Linked DNA regions of Homo sapiens: region 1 is linked to region 2. The links are contacts of gene promoters, found by promoter capture Hi-C in human tissues and cell types (Jung and others, 2019). All regions are on one chromosome and are shown on one strand. Each heading gives the region's core, a stretch centred on a gene start or on the middle of the fragment in contact. The rest is flanking DNA. Distances are from core to core; before and after follow the strand shown.

Region 1 (4,726 bases), core at 1,922-4,421, 98 kb before region 2:
AGCAGTTGGGAGAATTCAGCTGTCTTCTATGCCAGACATTGAAGAGATTTGTAAATATGTAAAGCAAAGTTACCTTTTCATCACTGTTTCAGAAAATATTGGTATTTTTCAGAAATTATGTTATTTATGTTAAAAAGTAATGGGATTACCATTATTTTATTTTATTTTGAAATGGAGTTTCACTCTTGTCGCCCAGGCTGGAGTGCAATAGTGTGATCTCGGCTCACTGCAATCTCCGCCTGCTTGGTTCAAGTGATTCTCGTGCCTCAGCCTCCCGAGTAGCTAGGATTACAAGTGCCTGCCACCACACTTGGCTAACTTTTGTATTTTTAGCAGAGACAGGGTTTCACCATGTTGGCCAGGCTGGTCCTGAACTCCTGACCTCAGGTGATCTGCCTGCCTTGGCCTGCTAAGGTGCTGGGATTACAGACGTAAGCCACCGTGCTTGGCTGGATTACTGTTACTTTTTAGAAATTTAATAAACATTTTAAATTTTCCTTAGTTAAAACAATTTTAATATAGTGAATACAAATAGCTATAAGCCACATAAAGAAAAGCTCTTGACCGGGCACAGTGGCTCATGCCTGTAATCCCAGCACTTTGGGGGGCCAAGGCAGCCAGATCACCTGAGGTCGGGAGTTCAAGACCAGCCTGACCAACATGGAGAAACCCCATCTCTACTAAAAATACAAAATCAGCCGGGCATGGTAGCACATGCCTGTAATCCCAGCTCCTCAGGAGGCTGAGGCAGGAGAATCGCTTGAACTCGGGAGGCAGAGGTTGCAGTGAACCGAGATCATGCCATTGTACTCCAGCCTGGGCAACAAAAGCAAAACTCCGTCTCAAAAAAAAGAAAAAAGAAAGAAAAGCTCTTTAGGGTCCTCAATAATTTTTACAATAATTGTTAAGAGAATAAAGAGGTCCTGAGATCAAAAAAGTTTGAGAACCACTGAGTTGGGGCAATAGGGCACCATAGTTAAAATCTTGGGCTCTGGAGTTAGCCTTTCTTTAAATTCAGACTCCATTCCTTGTTAACTGTGTGCCTCTTGGTAAGTTACTTAAGCTCTCTAAGCTTCAGTTTTTTCATCTGAAAAATAAGGGCAATAATGTGAATTTTCTAATTGTTAAATCAGAAAATTTATATAAAGTGATTAGTACAATGACAGTATATAGTGAGAGTTCAAATATCTGCTATGATAATAATAATTCTTGGCTGGGCACGGTGGCTCACACCTGTAATCCCAGCATTTTGGGAGGCCAAGGCAGGTGGATCACGAGGTCAAGAGATTGAGACCATCCTAGCCAACATGGTGAAACCCCATCTCTACTGAAAATACAAAAATTAGCTGGGCATGGTGGCGCGCACCTGTAGTCCCAACTACTCTGGAGGCTGAGGCAGGAGAATTGCTTGAACCCAGGAGGCGGAGGTTGCAGTGAGCCGAGATCATGCCACTGCACTCTAGCCTGGGTGACAAAGTAAGACTTCATCTAAAAATAAATAAATTAAAGGCCGAGCGTGGTGGCTCACACCTGTAATCCCAGCACTTTGGGAGGCTGAGGCAGGTGGATCACGAGGTCAGGAGTTCAAGACCAGCCTGGTCAAGATGGTGAAACCCTGTCTCTACTAAAAATACAAAAAATTAGCCGGGCTTGGTGGCACGCGCCTGTAATCCCAGCTACTCCGGAGGCTGAGGCAGAGAATTGCTTAAACCTGGAGGGGCGGAGGTTGCAGTGAGCCGAGATCGCACCACTGCACCCCAGCTGGGCGACAGAGCGAGACTCCGTCTCAAAAAATAAATAAATAAAAAATATAAATAAATATAAATAAAAAAAAATTCTTATCCTCACTTCACAAGTGATGAATGTATGTGTCTTGGTTTGGAGAACTAGTTTTAACCTTTATCAGAATGTAAACCCAATTAGGTGAAACAATCTCAAGGGACAAATGGATATAGTTCAGCTGATATTCTGTTAGAGATGTGGTAGAAATTGAGCAATAATGGATCGCCGTGACCAGAACATTTAGGAGTCTGTCATCTTGGAATTTACTTGCTCCTTTTTGGAAAGATTTGCAACCCTCACAAACCCAAAGGAACAATTTAATTATGTCCAACAACATGGCATTTTAACTAATCCAAAGAAACTTCCACTGAGGCATATGCATTTTACTATGCATTGGAAAGTGCAGTACAAGCACTTCTCAGATAGAAGACAGCCTGCATAAATGGAATCCTTAGTAGTGGCCCTTTGCCCAGACTGGGATTTTAAAGCTATAATTAACACTTTAAATTTACACTAGCAAATCAAGCTTTAAAATTAATTGCCCTCCATTTATTGGTATTAGGAAGGTATGTAAACTTGTCTATTGTCCCCCACTTAATTCTTTGAAATCACAATCCTTAATTAGGAGATATAACAAACATTATTAAAAGGGAGTCACATAACACTGGAACACACCGAATAGCTCTATCCTGATTGCACTTGCTTGAAATAAATGCAGGGAAACTTTATTGTAACTTCTCTTTTTAATGAGCTTTAACCAGTGCCGGAGCTTCCTGGTCAGGTACTTTTGTAAGCTGCAGTACTTACAAGTAGTAAATTATTAGGTGGTACTGAAAAAATTCAAGACAGTACTTTTAATGGTTTAGAGGTATCTAATCTCTTCCCAGCTGGTTTGTTATGACGCTCAAAGGTCTTGGAAATTTTAGGGAAAACCTTGATCATTAAAATTTAAGGCAAAAAATAATTTATTTTGTGATATTAATCTTTCAAATATATGTGTTGTGTTAACATGCACAGATGTCTGTGGGTGGTGAGATTATATATTTTCTATGCTTTTAATGATATTTTCCAAATTTTATACAGTGAATGTGTATGATTTTTATAATCAGATAAAGCTTTCTGGCAACATTAGGTGGGGCAGAGCAAGGTAGTCATCCATGCAGAGGGGCAGTCTGGCTTGGGATATTGAGGCCTAAGCAGAGTGAGGAGTGGGTCCGTGGGTTGGAGGGCAGCCTGGCATGAAGAGTCAGAGCTCAAGTGGATGAGGATGGTAGTCATGTGTGGGCACCTGGTGGTGGGTTTCAGAAGCCAAGCAGAGCAAGAAGGGCATCCATGTGGGGGAAAAGCCTACACAGGATGTGGAGGGCATCCATACAGGGTGGTGCTTGATGCACAGTGTCAAAGCCTAAGCAGGGTGAAGAGATGGTCCCACACCAGCAGTCAGAACCCTGGTGAGGTAAGGAGGACATCCACGTGTGCTGAGTAGCCCAGAATGGGGAATTCAGGGTTCAAGTAGAGTGAGGAGGACATCCACATACAGTAGGGGTTTGTGGCTGCAATGAGAGATTATATGATTATACAGAGGGATTGATCAAATTAGTCAATGTATTCAGGGTAATGGGAGCCAGGTTTCTCACTGTCAGTAAAGTGAGACACAAATTATGGAAAGGGAGAAACTAAAATGAACCCTGTTAGGATATTGCGTTAAAACTGGAGGCTTCAATGTGAACTTGTGGTTTCCAATATATAGATAGGTAGATATAGAAATATAGATGTAAAAAGGTAGATACATACACAGATACATACTCTAACTCTACATTGTGTCAGAAGGAAGTACTGGAAGAATGATGGGAAATGGTCAGAAGGACACAGAATCCAGCTTGGAGAGGTTCCCACTACCAAATCTGGGGCAATTTAAGCATCAAAATAGATAAGGAAAATAATTGATATACTGCATTGAATAAAATGAAAATTCGTGAGTCCATACTGACATAAATAAATAAATTGAAATTTTAAGGCTGGGCATGGTGGCTCATGCCTGTAATTCCAGCACTTTCAGAGGCTGAGGTGGGCTGACTGCTTGAGCCCAAGAGTTCACTTGAACCTGGGAGGTCAAGGCTGCAGTGAACCATGATGGTGCCACTGCACTCCAGTCTGGGTGACAGAGCAAGACCTTGTCTCTTAAAAAAAATTTTTTTTGGCTCACACCTTTAATCCCAGCACTTTGGGAGGCTGAGTTGGGCAGATCACGAGGTGAGGAGTTTGAGATCAGCCTGGCCAATATGGTGAAACCCCATCTCTACTAAAAATACAAAAATTAGCCAGGCATGGTGGCGGGTGCCTGTAGTTCCAGCTACTTGGGAGGCTGAGGCAGAAAAATCACTTGAACCCAGGAGGCAGAGGTTGCAGTTAGCCGAGATCATACCACTGCACTCCAGCCTGGGCAACGGAGTGGGACTCCATCTCAAAAAAAAAAAAAAAATTCTTAAGTTAGAATTACATTTTTTTAAGAATTGTAAAGGGACCTTGTTATGTTGTGCAACCTGAACAACCTGAAGTGCAGTGCTATTTACAGGTGTGATTGTAACTCACTTACAGCCTTAAACTCAAGCAATCTACCTGCCTCAGCCTCCCAAGTAGCTGTGACTACAGGTCACTGCACCCAGCTAAAATTATTCTTTTTCTTTTTTTAGAGACAAGGTCTCTCAACATTTTTTTTTTTTTTGAGATGGAGTTTCATTCGTTGCCCAGGCTGGAGTGCAATGGCGCAATCTCGGCTCACCGAAACCTCTGCCTCCCAGGTTCAAGCGATTCTCCTGCCTCAGCCTCCCAAGTAGCTGGGATTACAGGCATGTGCCACCACGCCCGGCTAATTTTGTACTTTTAGTAGAGATGGGGTTTCTCCATGTTGGTCAGGCTGGTCTCAAACTCCCAACCTCAGGTG
Region 2 (4,675 bases), core at 1,735-4,234:
CCAAGTCCCCTCCTCCTCCCAATTTGGCATAGCCCCCAAGACTGAGGCGGTCCAGCCGTGGCCAGCTTCGGTGAGCACAGTCCCGAGCTGCTGGGGCCCCAAGGAGGAGCTCCCCAAGGCCCAGATCCAGAGACTTGGAATGTTCAATGCAGGAGCCAGACGGCTGCACGGTGATGATCACATGGCCAGTCTGCGTCCGTGGACCCCAGGGTGGGGGCAGCCCGGGGCCCTTCAGCGGGTAGCTGTTGAGCAAGGCAGGTAACCCCAAGCGAGGATTAGCGGGCTCTGAACGCAGACTCCGCACTGACGGGACGGGTGAAGTACCCCGACGCGGGGACGGGTCCCAGATTTCTGGCTCTGCGCAGCCTACGGCTCGGGGACTCCTAGGGCCGGGGCTGGGAAGGAGGGCGCAGTCCCAGCCCGGGCCGTCGGGGGGCCGGAGCGCCTGGGCCCGCAGCACCCCCTGGCGGAGCCGTCGCGTCTCCAAGTCTCGGTTCTCATACAGCAGTGTGTTGGCGCAGATGAACACGAACAGGCCGACGCCCATGATCACCGGCCCGAGGAGCCGCAGCCGCTCGTGCGGGCCGTGAGCCCGGCCCCCGCCGCGACCCTCGCGTCGCAGCTCGCTCATCTGGGGCGAGCTGGCATTGGCGGCCCGGGACCCTGGGGCCCCGGCCCGGTGCGGCCAGTAGCCGGCCACTGCAATGCCCATACCCACCAGTACCACGAGCGCCCCCAGCGCCGCGAACGCCCCCGACGGCGAGCGCAGCCGCAGCCGCGCCCGCACCCGCAGAGGCTCGGGCGGGGAGCGCGGGCGCCGGCGGCGGCCCAGGCGGCGGCCCAAGCGAGAGACGCGGCCCTCGGGGCTCCTCCGCACCTCCCCGCATTCTTCGGGGCTCCCGGCCGTCATCTCGCCGTCGTCTGGGCGCTCTGCGGAGAGAAGATGGGAGGCAAGGACTGGACCGACGGGCCTCTAGCTTCAGGGCGCCAGGTTCGGGGCGCAAATCCGGGAGGGAAGCTCCGGCCGCCCAGCCCAGGCCGCTTGGAGATCCCTGGCGGCCACCCCCGGATTTTCCCGGGCGGCGAGGCGGGGAGCCGCCCGCGCTCGGGTTTTCCGCAGCGGAGCTCCGAGCCAGGCACGCGCGGCAGAAGCCGGAGTTGGCCCGGCCAGCGGGCGGAGAGGAGGGAGGGGGGCGCAGGCTGTTCCCTGGCGCATCCCGGGCTGCAAATCTGCCGCCTGCGTCCGGTCCGCAAGCCCGCGGGTCTTGGGCCTCGGGAAACGTGCGGCCCCCAGCTGCCGCGTCTCCAGGGTAAGTACCTCCCGGGCTCGACCCCACCCCCGCACGTGGCTGCACCGTAGCAAATGGGGCGGGGGCGCTCGGGCCTCCCAGGTCCGCAGGGGTCGCTCGCCGGGCCCCACCTCCCCCCTACTGTGCTTTACATACCGCAGCGCGGGAGGAGGGGGCGTCACCGGCTCCAGCCTCTCCCTGCCCGCCCCCTCCTTCCAGACCTCCTCCGCCCGCAGCGAAGCTGCAGCAGGAGCGACTTGAGCTAGACACCGGGAAGACCGCTCGGATCAAGACCAGCCAGGCAGAGGAGGAGAGGCGGCGCCGACTTCGCCCAAGATTTCCATCAAGTCCACGCATGAGAGGCCTCTCCCTCCCCCAGCGGTCGTGCTGGGGCCACGGCAGCAGGCGGGGGTGCCGGTGCCGGGCGCTGGGCCCCGCCGGACGGATGCCCTCCCGGCTCCCCCGTCGGCCCGGGCAAGGCTGTTCCCAGGTTGCGACGTTTCCAATTCGGGCTCCTCCGGATGAATCATCCCCCTTTCCCGCCGCCTGGCCTCCTTTCCCGCCTCCTCCGCCCGAGGCCTCCGTGGCCCGTGGCCCGGTCAGAGCAGCACCGCCCCTGCGCCTCGGGATCCGGGCCGCACAGCTTAAGCCCTCCCGATTGCTGGCCGCGCCCTGCCTGCGGCCTGTGGCCTGGATCCCGGGCCCAGCAGGAGTAGCCGAGCTGCGTGCGGTGTGGCCCCCACGAAAGGGAGGGCGAGGGAGAAGACGCGGCCCCCGCCCAGGCGCCCCAGGCCGCAGGAGAGGAGGCTCAGGGCCTAGCTGTCCAGGGTCGTCCTCACTGCTCGCGTCCGCTTCCTAAAGAACCACCGCGCTGGAGCCCGCAGCCGAAACCTCGGGGAGGCGGCCTTGCTCCCCGACCCACGCCCCATCTGCACCCCAAACCTCAAAGCAGGACACCCATCCCTGCCTCCGACTGGAGCGCTCAAGGCCCGGGCCTAGCAGGGAGCCGCCACTCTCCCGCGTCCAAAGCCTGGTTTCACAGATTGCAACTACGGCCCAGGGAGGCCGGGGAGACTGCCCGACCCCGCACTAGGCGGGGGCTCTGCCAGGTCCGACGCCGGGCTCCGGGGCCCCAGCCCTAGACCCCTCTCAGGACAGCCACGGGAGTATCCAGGAGGAAGCGAGGCCCATCCCCTCCTTGTCCCTGAGTTTGCAGCCCTTTCCCCAGCCCGCAACCGGAGGAGCGATCATCGCTTCAAGCCAGAACTGGCGCTCTCAGCCCCGGCTCCAGCAAGGTCACCCGGAGCCCCGCGCGTCGCTGCCGCGAGGGAAGCGAAAACAAGCAGAGTGGGGACATGGGGACACGCTCAGAGACCCCGAGCCGTGGAGGTAGTGGGCCGACGCTGGGGACACCAGGGAGGCGGAAACTTGGGGACACAGCGCACAGCCCGACAGAAGATGCTGGGGCCGAGTCCCCAGGACTCCAGGGTCCCGCCACCGCCCGCGTCCACACTCCCGCCTGGGGGAACGGGAGGGCCGCGCTCCCGCCCCCAGGGGCCCTGACCGAGGGAGGGAGGGAGGGAGGGAGGGACCAAACGAAAAGTTGGGAAAAGTGGAGTGCGGACCCCTGGACCCCAGCTCGGCTCACCTGGCGCCGCAGCGCCGCGCGGGTCCGGGTCCCAGTCCGCGCGCGGAGGCTCCAGAGCCGCCCGGGTCTCCACGGCCCGGCCCCAGCCCCGCCCCGGCCCCGCCTCCAGCCCCCGGGACCGTCCGACCCGCGCCGGGCCCGGCCCCACCGCCGCTGAAAGGCGGCAGCTCAGGTCAAAGGATCGCAGGTAGGCGCCCTGTGCGCGCCTGGTGACTCCGGGCACCCGTGGCCCGAGTTCTGCCATCCCCACTCTCCCACCCCCAGCTTACATCGGTCGCAAAGGCCCACAAAGGCGACCCCTTCCTACATGGGGAAACTGAGACCCGGGACCCAGGAGCCCCGACACCCGCACGTCCTTCCCCGCTTCCCAGAGCCCCTCATCCCAGGCGCCCGGGGAGCTTCCAGGAGGAGGCGGCCCGAGTCCCTGCTCTGCCCCGGTCCCGCAGCCCTTGCTGTCGCTGAACCTCGCGGACTTCATCTGTGCAATGGGCACCAAGGCTTCAGCCTCGCAAGATGCCGAGAGGCAAGAGCCAGACGCCAAGGGCCAGCCCGGGGCGACTCCGCAAAGCCCTCAGCGAAAGCAGCGCCCGGGGAGGGGCGGGCCTTGTAGCTGAAAGGACCGGACGGGGTGCGGATGTGCCGCCGGGTACTCCTAAGAACAGGCGCCCCTTCGCCAGTGGGGGAGCGGGCTTGTTCCCAATAACGGGGAGGGTGCTGAGAGCTGCGACCCCGCCGGCGAGCCCGAAGGGGGCGGCCCGGCCTTCGCGCCCTCCCGCCCCTGGAGGCAGGAATGCAGAGCGGGGGAGCCAGGGCGGCCGGCGGTCGGCCCAGTTTCCATGATGCGGGGGGCGGGTTCGGGGGAGGCGGCGACCGATTTCCAGGCTCAGCGGTCAGGCCGGGCCCCCCGGGAGGAATTTCCGGCCTAGGATTGATTAAGGCCCGCCCCTCCCCCCGGCCGTGGAGACCCCCGGCGCGCAGCCGGGGGGAGGGGCGCTAATGAGACCCGGCTGCGCGCCGCGGACAGGGAGGGGACCCGAGGAAGGGGCGGGCCAGGGGCCGGGGCCACCCCCCGACGCGGGGCGGAGCCGGGTCCCGGAGCCGCACGGCCAGGCCAGGCCTTGAACCTGAGCTCCCACCCTCTGGGTCGGCGGAGGAGAGTGGGGGTGCATCAGTGCCCCCCGGGACCCCCTCTTCCAGCTCTTAAAAGCCCCCTCGGGGGGTCGGTGAGGTAACGGGCGGACCAGAGGGACCACAGTGGGGAAGACCGAGCCTCGGCTCCCGGGCTTCATCCCTGCGAGGCCGTGTGCGAGATCGAAGCCAGGGCCTCCTTCTTGCCTCCCCAGTCCGACTGGAGGCTCCTGAGGTCTCGGTCCGCTCCACGGAGGCCTCCCTCCAGCATCTTTGCTTGGGACCCCCGCCCCCATCAATCCTCCGCTTCGTCCACTCCCCGCACACTGACCCCACCGCGGTCGCACCTCCGCCTCCCAGCTCTCCCTCCCACCCCTGGGCTCCCTCAATCCCACTCCATGCCTGCCTCTCCCAGCCCACTGCTCTTCCTCCAATAAGCCCGGCTTCTAGTCTGACTCCCTGGGCCCCTCGATCATCCCCTGCCTCCAGCTCTGTGAAGGGCCCTTTGTCCACCCAAGCACGGGGTCAGCCTTGGCCCCTTCCTCTCCCCCTCTCATCCCACTCACAGAGCCTTGGGGGCCCTGCTCTTTTCATCTGGGGCCAGCCACGT

The links. Contacts are between HindIII fragments. The study calls those that stand out against the background at their distance.
Region 1: a fragment that was not itself captured here is called in contact with the fragment with the promoter of TMEM200B in region 2 in 2 of the 25 tissues and cell types used here (H1 embryonic stem cells and heart left ventricle).

The regions. Positions count from the first base shown.
Region 1 is chr1:29,022,844-29,027,569 of GRCh38, forward strand. The region is part of intron 7 of EPB41 (erythrocyte membrane protein band 4.1); the gene reads left to right. Among named protein-coding and RNA genes, the nearest start is that of TMEM200B, 99 kb to the right of the region's middle. The HindIII fragment of the contact is 6,076 bases long and covers 134-4,726 here.
Region 2 is chr1:29,120,919-29,125,593 of GRCh38, forward strand. It overlaps TMEM200B (transmembrane protein 200B), which reads right to left and starts at 2,985. Exons shown (of 2, transcript NM_001003682.4): 1 at 2,938-2,985; 2 at 1-930. The coding sequence starts at 910. RefSeq lists a silencer at 340-719 and enhancers at 2,399-3,258, 3,259-4,118, 4,119-4,675. The HindIII fragment of the contact is 25,455 bases long and covers 1-4,675 here.